2 separate regions of the Homo sapiens genome follow, and region 2 is linked to region 1. The links are contacts of gene promoters, found by promoter capture Hi-C in human tissues and cell types (Jung and others, 2019). All regions are on one chromosome and are shown on one strand. Each heading gives the region's core, a stretch centred on a gene start or on the middle of the fragment in contact. The rest is flanking DNA. Distances are from core to core; before and after follow the strand shown.

The links. The method cuts DNA at HindIII sites, captures the fragments that hold promoters and counts their contacts. A contact is called where the count stands out against the background at its distance.
Region 2: a fragment that was not itself captured here is called in contact with the fragment with the promoter of PGLYRP1 in region 1 in 4 of the 25 tissues and cell types used here (IMR-90 fibroblasts, aorta, hippocampus and 1 more).

The regions. Positions count from the first base shown.
Region 1 is chr19:46,020,514-46,026,287 of GRCh38, reverse strand. PGLYRP1 (peptidoglycan recognition protein 1) reads left to right here and starts at 3,235. Exons shown (of 3, transcript NM_005091.3): 1 at 3,235-3,553. The coding sequence starts at 3,267. RefSeq lists an enhancer at 3,742-4,627. The HindIII fragment of the contact is 20,258 bases long and covers 1-5,774 here.
Region 2 is chr19:46,114,630-46,120,741 of GRCh38, reverse strand. It overlaps IGFL3 (IGF like family member 3), which reads left to right. Exons shown (of 4, transcript NM_207393.2): 4 at 385-675. The coding sequence ends at 412. It also overlaps a transcript of IGFL2 not described here. Among named protein-coding and RNA genes, the nearest start is that of IGFL3, 7.0 kb to the left of the region's middle. The HindIII fragment of the contact is 4,320 bases long and covers 2,458-6,112 here.

The DNA.
Region 1 (5,774 bases), core at 1,986-4,485:
CTCAACTGAGAGCTCCAGACTAGACATTGAAATACAGGAATCCTCTGCATTTTGACTGTGGCTGAAGCCATTATGTGGATAAGATCACTCAGCACAAAATATATGGTTTGAGGGTCCAGGAGGGAAGAATTGCTCTGAAAAAAAGAGAGAGAGAAAAAAAGACCAGCCAGAGAAGCAGAAGGAAAATCAAGGCAGTCTTACATCACAAAAGCTAAGGGAAATAAGTATTTTGAGAAGGAGGAAGTGGTCGACTGTGTCAATTGCTATCCAATTTCCCAAGATCATGTAGCTAATAAGGGGCAGAATGGAAATTTAAAACCAGGTCTACCTATATAATAAACAGAACCTGGGCAAACGGCTAGGCATCTGGAAACAAGATCAGACCCCTACCTCACACCACATGCAAGTATACATTTTAGCCGAGATAAAGATCTAAAAGTAAAACACAAAATAATCTTTTTTAAATAGAAAAAGTTTTACAATCTTAGTGTGAAAAGTCCCTCTTAAGGCAAGACAGGAAACACAGAAACCATAAAAGAAAAACCTAGATATTTTTTTAACAGATTAGAGGAAAGGGTTTACAGCACATTTGATAAGACATAGGGTTAATATCCCCCATATACAACTCAACAAGAAAATGATCAGAAGAGATGAACAGACAGTTTGAAGATGGATGCTGATAGCCATAAATATGTAAAAAGATAATCACCTCTCTAATGTTCAAGGAAATGCAAATAAAGCAATAATGAGATCTTGTTCTTTGGATTAGTAAAACATTTAAAAACTGATCATATTGTGGGAAAAATATATACTAAAATCTTTTTGGTATTGTATTTACCAATTCCTATTAAAATTTTAAGTGTAGCTCTACTTCTTAATCCAGGCACTGGATACACAGGTGGATTCACTTCGTGAACACTCATAAGCTCACTACTCTATTAAGTCTATCAACTCTATAAAAAATGTGTTTACACACTTTTTATATTACATTATTCTTTAATGCTTCTAAAAAAACTGAAATACACAAAATGTACACACCCAAGAAGTCAAAAATCCCAATTATGGGATTCTTTTGTTCATTTTGCAAATAATAACAAAAAGGCAAACAACCCAATTTTTTTTAATGGGCAATGGATATGAACAGGTAATTGACAAAAGAGCAAGCCCAAATATAGACAGCAAATACAGAAAAATACCCAGTCTCCTGAGTGGGTATAAAAATGCCAAAGGAGCTGTCACTTTATACTTATAAATTTAAGAAGTGATAACACTGGCCAGGCAAGGTGGCTCATGCCTGTAATCCCAGCACTTTGGGAGGCTGAGGTGGGTGGATCACCTGAGCTCAGGAGTTCGAGATCAGCTTGGCCAACATGGCGAAACCCCATCTCTACTACAAATACAAAAATTAGCCAGGTGTGGTGGCACATGCCTGTAATCCCAGCTACCTGGGAGGCTGAGGCAGGAGAATGGCTTGAACCCAGGAGGTGGAGGTTTACAGTGAGACAAGATCGTGCCACTGCATTCCAGCCTGAGTGACAGAGCGAGACTCTGACTCAAAAAAAAAAAAAAAAAAGTGATAACACCCACTTCTGGGGTCGGGGTGAGGAGGCTCCAAAACATTACTGGTGAAAAATATGAATTATTAATGGCTTTTTGGGGAAAATGATCTGGTAATATTAATTAAATATGTATACTCATTGACCTAATAACTCTGTGTTTATAATTTACTTATAAATGCACCAGTGCATAGGGATATATGTCTGAAAATATTTTGCGTAGTGTGGAGAAAATACTGGAAAACCTTCAAAAACTAAAAGATCCACAATGCTGAACTGATACTATAGCATATTGTGCAACTATTATAAAGAATAAATTAGAATTAGATGTACTGCCCTGGTGAGATGCCCATGAAATATTAGGTGACAAAAGGTAAATTGATGCACATGGTTTTGATTTTTTTTTTTAATGTCCTTATATAAGTTTGTAGGGAGGAGAATACGGTTTATAACTCTGCAGGCAGAAAGCCTGTAGCCAAACCCTGGCTTCATCACCTCCTGTATGTGATCATCCCCCCGGGCCTCAGTTCCGTCAACTGTAAGAGGGGTTAATAATAACATGGATCTGGCAAGCTTGTCGTTGAGTATATGATAATTTCTGAAAAGTGCTACAGATGCCTGGTGCACAATTCAGTAACAGCATGAGTACAATGTATATGAGAAGGCAGAACACAGAAGATGAAAACACACCACACAGGTCAGGCACGGTGGCTCATGCCTATAGTAATCCCAGCACTCTGGAACACTGGCAGGTGGCTCACCTGAGGTCAGGAGTTCGACACCAGCCAGGCCAACATGGCAAAACCCCGTCTCTACCAAAAATATAAAAATTAGCTGGGCGTGGTGGTGTGCACTTGTAATCCCAGCTACTCAGGAGGCTGAGGCAGGAGAATCACTTGAAGCCAGGAGGCGGAGGTTGCAGTGGCCCAAGATCGCACCATTGCACTCCAGCCTGGGTGACAAGAGCAAAACTCCATCTCAAAAAAAAAAAAAAAAAAAAAGGAAAATATTATTTATAAAATAGAAAATTAAAAAAAAAATTTTAAATACACATTTTTAAAAACCACTTGCAGGCTCTCACACACTGCATATCCAGGATTCACATGCAGGCAGCCTGGCTCTAGACGCGGGGCTCCAGTGCCTCCGGTGTCTCAGCCCGTGACTTCCCTGCTCTCAACCTCAGTTTACTCCACTGTGAAATGGACTTCCAGATACTCACCTCTTGAGTTTGCTGCAAGCGTAAATGGCATCAGGCTTGGACCTGGGGGAAGGAAGTGTTTTTAAAATGGGTAGCTTTGTTACCTCAGTCCTTGCGGGGAGAAGATGTGCCAATGCCCCGGGCCTCTGCGATGTAAGTTCCTGTTGAGTTGTTCAATGTTCCACTGAGAGGAGAGACAAGCAGGACCGGGATCCCGGCCCCGGGTCTTCCAGAAACGGCGGGGCGAAGCGCCCAGGGGCCTGTGCGTCCCTCCCTGCTGAGCGAGGGGGCCTGTCATTGCCGTGGGCGTGACCCAGACCCCAACCACAGTGCATCCCGCCCTGGCCCAGCCAGAGAAGGAAGCTGAGTCTGGGGTCTGCTGGGCCAGCAGGAAGTCCCAGCAGGGTGTGAAGCAAGACTTTCCGGGCCACTCCTGGAATCCCCCAGCAGATAAAGGCGGCCCCTCCACCGGGCGCTCCTAGCGGTCTCCCGGACCCTGCCGCCCTGCCACTATGTCCCGCCGCTCTATGCTGCTTGCCTGGGCTCTCCCCAGCCTCCTTCGACTCGGAGCGGCTCAGGAGACAGAAGACCCGGCCTGCTGCAGCCCCATAGTGCCCCGGAACGAGTGGAAGGCCCTGGCATCAGAGTGCGCCCAGCACCTGAGCCTGCCCTTACGCTATGTGGTGGTATCGCACACGGCGGGCAGCAGCTGCAACACCCCCGCCTCGTGCCAGCAGCAGGCCCGGAATGTGCAGCACTACCACATGAAGACACTGGGCTGGTGCGACGTGGGCTACAAGTGAGTGTGGCAGGGGGGCACGGGCTGGACTGGGGATCCCAGAGGCAAAGGTGTGCAAGTGCCCGCCAGCGGGACCATTTCTAGGCCTGGTGCTGAGGCCACCTGGCTGACACCCTGAGCAGCTTACTGAACCTCACAAGGTCATTTCTTCCTCGGGTCACCACGTGGGCCGGGGCAGGTGCTCACAGCACAAAGATGCGTGAGAAGGGGGGATGGGCTGAAATCCAAGCCCCGCTCCCGCTCCCGGGAAGAAGGGGCAGGCTTTGCCTAACACACACCAAGGTGTCCGCGACGCCTTATGAAGGCGCCCCTTCCTGATGCCTGGTGCCTTTGTTAGGAGGCGGAAAACCAGGCTGACTCAGTGCGGAGCTGGGTTCCAGGGTCAGCTCATCTTATTGCTGGCTGAGGCCTGGGGCGGGTCCTCCCGGCTTCAGCTTCCTCCTCGGCAAAGTCAATGGAATCGCGGCCCATCTGCTCCTTATATGAGCCAATACAGGCAAAGCACCTAGGAACTGCCTGGCACACGGGGGCCCGCAAAGCCACGGGCTATTACCATTAGGCACCTACTATGTGCCAGGCAGTGTGCCAGATGTGGCATGGAGAACGGTGCCACTCTAGCCTCCTGGGGTTGAAAGACCAGCAGGGAGAAACAAGCCAAGGCCACAGGTGAATTCAGACGGTGATAGAGGCGATGGATAAAAGGAAAGAGGTGAGGGAGGGTGACCTCAGGCTGGGACCAGACCCACACAGGCTCCTTGGAAGGGTGGGGCAAGGGAAAGCCTCCCTGAGAGTGGCTGCCTTGGCTCTGGGATGGGGGAGCAGACAGAGGCCTGCAGGTGGCAGGGGGTGCTGGGGGCAAAGCCAACGGGGTTGAGTGGGCGGGTCCTGTGGGAAGGACAGGGTGGCTGAACACAGCCGGGCGAGCGGAATGAAATGAGGAAAGGGCAGGACCAGGCAGGGCTTTGTGGACCACAGTGAGGACTGTAGCTTTTACTCCGAGATGGGAGCCATGGGAGGCTTCCCCCCGCAGAGCAGGGACCAGGGCTAGTGTAGGTACAAGAGACTCCCTCTGGCTGCTGTGGGGAGAACAGACTGTAAGGGGTGCCGGCTGAAGCAGGCTGAAGCAGGTCCGGGGCCACGCCTACCAGCTACCTCCTCCTTAGAATGGGCTGCAGTCCAGCCTGACGGTTTCCACAGGGAGGGAACTTTCAATCCTGCAGGCTCTCAGACCCAGGTAAGCATCAGAATCTCCTGCAGAGCTTATTGGAGGAACATGCAGGTCCCCAGAGACCACTTCAATAGACCCCACCCAGGGGACACATGTTCTCAGGACCTCCTAAGGCTGTGTCTCACACACACACACACACAAAACCCACCCAGAGAAGTCTAGAAGTGTCCAAAGGTATTCCCAGCCCTTCCAGTTCAAGATTTTATCAAAGACTCCAACTTCAACATTTTGTTTCCAAGACTCAGGCGCTCTGATCCTAAGTGTTCCCATGAGGTCACGAAGGCCCGAGCCTCGGGTCCACATCACCACATACAGAAGCAGCCGCTGTCTGGCCCTCAGCTTTTAGGATTCCGAATCTGGTTCTAACGTTCTGAATCCCCTTTCCATGTCACGTCACCTTCTCTCTCTGAGCCTCGTTTCTTCACCTGTAAATGGGGCTTCTGACTGTACCCGCTTGGCGATGGTGGCTGAGGTTTCAATGAGATGCATTCATGCAACAAATGACCAGGGAGAACCAACCACCCCCGACCCCAGCACCATCATGCCAGGCTCCGGGAATATGGCAGGGCCATAACCAGCCAGTCCCAGCAGCCAGCATCACCAGCAGGGCCATAACCAGCCAGTCCCAGCAGCCAGCATCACTGGGGCCAGATTCTGGGAGCTGGCTTCCTAAGCAGCAGATTCGGGACTCAAGATTCGGAAGTTCCGACATTCTGTGCGTCATTAATGACACTGTGAGCGCGGGGGCTGAGTTGGCACATACTGCAGCTCCAAGGCACTGATCTTCTAGTTCATTCCCATTTGCCAAGTCAGACACGCTCAATCAGATGTGCTGAATGAATCAGCCTTAAGGATCTGCTGCCAGGCTTGGGAACCTCAAAGAGGCAGGTGCTGGGGCTCCAGGGTCGGTATCTGGTTACGACCCCAACTTTGAGTCTGTGATCCTGTCCCCCAGTGGACCCCGAGGGCAGGAAGCAAGCTGGGGCAAAGGCA
Region 2 (6,112 bases), core at 3,368-5,867, 93 kb before region 1:
AAATTATAGAAGTTTATAATATCTGTATCTCCTTGGTAAATTTCTCATTCATATCCCAAACTGAATTTCTGATATCTCTGTATTGGTTTTCAGATTTCTATTGCATTGCATTTTCTTTAAGATCAATATTTTTAATTCTTTATCTGGCATTTTGAGGAATTCTTTGTTATTGGGATCTGTTGCTGGAAAATTGTTATGATCTTTCATGTGGTGTCCTATCTTCCTGCTTTTTCATGGTGACTGTGTCCTTCTGTTGATATCTACACATCTGGTGTAGCAGTCAAGTCTGTTAAAGTCAAGTTTGTTAAAATTGCTTTTGTAGGGGATAATTTTTTCCTGAGAATATATGTTGTTAAGACACTTTGATTTGGGGCACTGTGATAGGAACAGGAGGCACGTCCTGTACCCATAAAAACCCCAGGCTCCACTGGCAGACGGCAGACAAGGGGAGAAGAGACGAAGCAGCTGGACATCGGAGACTACAGTTGAACTTCGGAGAGAAGCAACTTGACTTCAGAGGGATGGCTCAATGACATAGCTTTGGAGAGGAGCCCAGCTGGGGATGGCCAGACTTCAGGGGAAGAATGCCTTCCTGCTTCATCCCCTTTCCAGCTCCCCTTCCCGCTGAGAGCCACTTTCATCGGCAATAAAATCCCCCACATTTACCATCTTCAATTCGTTCATGCAACCTGATTCTTCCTGGACACTGAGCAGGAGCTCAGGATACAGAGGGCTGTCACACCGAGCTGTTCAACACCTAAGCCATTCATGGATGGCAGAGCCAAAAGAGCACTGACTGTAACACTCCCTCTGAGGCTTCATGAGTTGTGGGCATCCCCCAGATGCTGCTGCAGGGCCAGTACACAGTTGTGCTCCTGCCAGTGCCCAAAACACACCTACCCGGGCTCCTGCATCCCCTTGCCGGCAAGCTGCACCCCCACCCCACCCCACCCACTGGTGAGCAATTGAGCACTACAGGCTGAGCGAGTGAGGCACCTCTGTCACAAGTCTTGTGAAGGGGTTAGGGAAATTATCCCAATTGACCTGCAGTAGAGTGGTCTTTGCATGACTTCTTTGGCAGTATTCAGGGTCAGTGGTATCTGTGATTTCCTCAGTGGCTTAAGCTACAGCTATTAGTTGAGGTTGTAGTAAAGTTTAACTGGGAACTTGGACGTCAACTAAGCCAGTCTTTGGCCCCAGTAGTAGCAGCAGTGGGATGAGAATGACTGTTTTTAGGCCCCAGAGCAGCATACCCTGGCTCCAGTCAGTAGGTTCTAGGGGCTGATTCTTGGGCCTCCAGATGTCTGGCTTAGAAGCTTGCAGTGGGAACGATGATCCCTGTGTGTGGGCAGGTTCTCAGACCTCTGGGCAGCTGGTGTGGCATGGGAGATAGCAGTAGCAGTGGTAGAACAGCTCACTGGGACCCAAGCCCTCCATGTTGGTGTTACAAGAAGATGCGATCAGTTGGCAGGCTTGTCCCCAGTCCCACAGTCACTTGTAGTACTGCAGTGGTCACTGTCCTAAGTGTGGTGTACCCTGGAGAGCTTGGACTACCCTGTTTGGTAAGAGAGCTTAGTCTACCCTGTTCCTCTCCCAGCAGGGTGTGGAACTCATCACCTCAAACTCACCTGGAGGGCGGGGCACAGCCAAGTGTTAAACTCTCAAAATGGTGCCAGCTGTGGGCTTGTGACCAGACAAAACAGAGATCCCTCCCAGAAAAGCATCATCCCATAGCAGGGTGTTGAGTATTATCTTGAGTATGTATAAGGGAGTCTGGACTCCCTGTCCCTCCTAAACCGGGCCACAGCTGCAGCCATGTCAACTCAAACTGAGGCCAAGGGCAGGGCACAGCCTGAACTTAAACTATGGAAACTGCACCTTGGGCCTGCAACCAGAGAGGCTGAGGTCCCTCGCAGGCAAGCAGCATGGGCAAGAAGCTATGGGGAATGCAGTCTGCTCACGTGTAAGTCTCAACTTCAGCCTTCAGCAGGGAGGCAGTAACTCTCCCAGGGGTGCATGGGAGTGCCTGGTCTCCCCTCTGCCTCCTTGCAGCAGTAAAGTGGCAGCAGCTGTCTGTAGATACCTGATGTCTGGGCTCTCAAAATGGTGCCCATCTGAGGCTGCCCAGGGTTCAGATGCCTGTGGGAGTGTGTGGGGGTTCCCTTTCTGGAGCAACATCTTTGGGCAGCTTCATATGTCAGGCCGGAGGCCCTAATGAGTCCGGGGTTTCTCCCACAGCCAAGATTATAAAAGCCTGTCTAGGAGTGTGGAGCCCAGGGGCTTTCTCTCTTACTGCTTCCCCACACATTCCAGGAGCCTCTCCCAGCTCAGTCAATCCCAGGTGGGCAAGCTGCCTCAAACCCTTTTCTTACTTCTGGTGCTTCCCATCTCTTCTCTGGTGAACCTCAGCATTCTCTCCTAGACCATTTGTTTGAAATGTGAGTATCTACTTGCTATTCTGGTTTTCTCTGTGGGGGAGACAAACATACCTGCATCTATTCAGCCGTTATGATTCATCTCCAAAGTCTATTCCAATTTATAGAAGTTTGAAAGGCTGCCTCTAGACTATCGGTGGTTTAATGTTAAAGACATTTATGAACACTAAACTTCTCTTTAAAATTTTTTATTGTTTTAATTGCCTCCTGTTTACCTTGTTTATAAGAAAAGGATGCCCACCCTAGGGCTGTGGGGATGGCAAAACACAGGACGTTAATTCTGGGTGGATAAAATCAACAGTAGATTATTAGCCCCACGTATGCTCACAGCCTGAGGGAGGACACTGCATGCTAAGTATGGCCACAAAGGTTGCATTTAGGAGCACCTAACAAGCAGGGGCTAAGGAAGGCAGGCTCTGTAGTGTCAAGAGAGTGAGGTGGTCCCTGGTTCCTGCAGGAAGAAGTGCTATCTCCATTCTGGGGCCTGTAGTCCCAAGCAAGATTCATTTTAAAAATGAACAGATGGTAGTCCGGGCGCGGTGGCTCACACCTGTAATCCCACCACTTTGGGAGGCTAAGGTGGGTGGATCACGAGGTCAAGAGATCGAGGCCATCCTGGCCAACATGGTGAAACCCCGTCTCTACTAAAAATACAAAAAAATTAGCCAGGCTTGATGGCACATGCATGTAGTCCCAGCTACTTGAGAGGCTGACGTGGGAGGATCCCTTGGGCCCAGGAGTTTGAGGCTGCAGTGAGCTATGATTATACCACTGCACTTTAGCCTGGGTGACAGCACAAATTCTGTCTCTAAAAAAATCAAGCAAGCAAGCAAACAAACAAACAAAAAACAACAAAAAAGAAGGGACTGGAAACCACCAATTCAATCAGAAAAAAAAATTGACTTTTAAGAGAATTCTTCTTGGCCTGGTGCAATGACTCACACCTGTAATCCTAGCACTTTGAGAGGCAGAAGTAAAATGATCACTTGAGGCCAGGAGTTCAAGACCAGCCTGGGCAACATAGTGACACCTCATACCTACAAAATATCTACAAAATATAAAAATTTAAAAAGAGAGAAATCTTCCTAACTGCAGCCTCAATTAACCTTTATTCTCTAGGTATACTGAAAAACTTACTGAATAGGCTTAGCTCAATTAAAGCTTAAAATTATTTTAAAAATAAATAATAAAGTACCTTACATAATGAGAAAAAAATAGTCAAAATAAAGCTCAAGATTTTAAGGCTTCATTTTAGAATCAAATCCTTGCCTACTTTTACTCCAATCAATTAAGTTTATGCCAAACCAGTATATAAAATTTTTACTAGTTATTATAATTGCCTAATTTAATATAAGATAAACAAGTTAATTAATTTAACTTGTGTAAGTTGTACAATATAAATAATTTAATATAAGTTAAATTCGAGTGTGAAAAGATTTACTGGCTCTATTAAAACTAAAAATAATAAGCAAGGTAATGGGTATGTTAATTAGCTTGATTTAATCTTTCCACAAAGGTACCACTGTAGGTTGGTATGACTTTCCCAGAACTCCGTTACATGAATTAGAACATCACATTGTATCAAATAAATGCACACAATTATAACTTGTCCATTAAAAAAATACTAATTGGCCCGCTTCAGTAGCAAGCACATGTAATCCCCACAACCCAGGAGGCTGAGGTAGGAGGATTCCTTGGGGCCAGAATTTCGAGACTAGCCTGTGCAACAGAGTGAAACCTCATCTGTAAAAATTTAAAAATTGTTCTAATTAGAATAATACTAATCAAAAATTGCTTTAACTAAAGCAAATGCTTTGGAAAGATTCAATATATCTGAATCAGCAAAGAGACATTGTTCTTATTTGCTAGAGGCAAAGCAATGTATTTTTTTAATTACTAAAATCTAGGATTTCCCAGTCAGACTATTAGGTAAATGTCCTTAAACTCACAGCATTTTTACAGAAAACCACAAGTAGATATTGCCAGCAATGCATTATCAACGGTGTTGCTGCCAGAAAGACAACGAGAGCTCTTTTCTGTAAGCTCACACTCACAGAGAAAATTATTTGGTATGTCTTAAAAGACTGGGAAATGAGGAGATATACCTAATGTAAATTACGAGTTAATGGGTGCAGCACACCAACATGGCACATGTATACATATGTAACAAACCTGCATGTTGTGCACATGTACCCTAGAACTTAAAGTATAATAATAAAAAAAAAGATTGGGAAATGAACAATCCAAAAATAGAATTAACAGTCCCACTTATAACATCAACAAAAGGAAAAATGGACCCATCATCAGTCACCAAGACCTGAGAACAGAGAGTGGCAGCCCCTTCACACAGGCGGCAGAGCAAGGAAGCTGTCAGCCGGCGAGCCTCCTGGAGTATACCTGAGATGGGCAGAACTGGGGACATCAGTTCTCTACAGCAGCCCTGCAATGAGGGGCTGGAGTGGTATAGAAAAAATTCCAACGCTTTTTGCTGGTAAGTGGCTCTACTCATTCATTTATCCCTGTCGCTGGTTCCCTTCTTGAAGCTTGAAAATAATCTGAACTTTCCATGTCAAGAGCAGCTGGCCTCCTCCCATACATTAATTTTCTGTATTGGCTAGGTATTGGCTGCAAACACAAGATTAAATTACACAGAGAGTCGGGTAGTGAAACTGCTCCCACTCAGGCTGAGTCACCAGATTCACCCTGAGGTGAATCTGAATCAGGCTGAGGTTTCTGGGGTTGGCTGTTAGCTTGGGTCTGCATAGCTACCTCTCAGAGAACACACTGGCCACAGCTCCCAAGCTGTAGCTGTTTCTGCCTCCCCTGACCCAGAACTGCTACTTCCCTCAACATTTCCAGTGATTCGCTGCATTTCATTTTGTCTTGTGTTTTCTACTGACGCCGCCTTATTTTTGTTTTATGTGCCTTACCTGATATTTTGGGGGTTATTCACATTTTTAAAATGTATTTTCATTTTCCCTGTAAGAGAGAGCCTGTGTTTCTGGCTTGCAAACCAGGCTGGAGATGGCACCTTCCCCAGAGCTCAGGAATTCTGGGTGAGGATTGAGTGTGGGGAATGTCATGAGATTTAGCCTGCTCCTGTAGGCAAAAGGACCTTTTGAAACACACAAGTGGGGATAGTTAGGTATTTCATACACATAACATAGTTGTGATACGAAAACCAGAGAAAGATAATCACCAAATATTCTAGGACACTGGTCCTCAATATTAGCATGCACAAGAGTCACTAGGGCTATGGATGAACATAGGTGTGATACAAATGCCAGAGAAAGATAATCACCAAATATTCTAGGACACTGGTCCTCAATATTAGTATGCATGAGAGCCACTAGGGCTATGGATGAAAATGCAAATTTCTGGGCCTTACTCCCAGAGATTCTGATTCTGTAAACCTGTGGGGAGTCCAGGAAACTGCATTTTCAAAAAGCACCTGTATTAGTCAATTTTCACACTGCTATGAAGAGCTGCCTGAGACTGGGTAATTTATAAAGAAAAGTGGTTTAATTGGCTCACAGTTCCGCTTGGCTGGGAAGGTCTCTGGAAATTTAAAATCATGGCAGAAGGCAAAGGGGAACCAAGGCGTATCTTACATGGTGGCAGGAGAGAGAGAAGGAGAAAGTGCCACACTTTTTAACCATCAGATCTCAGGAGAACTC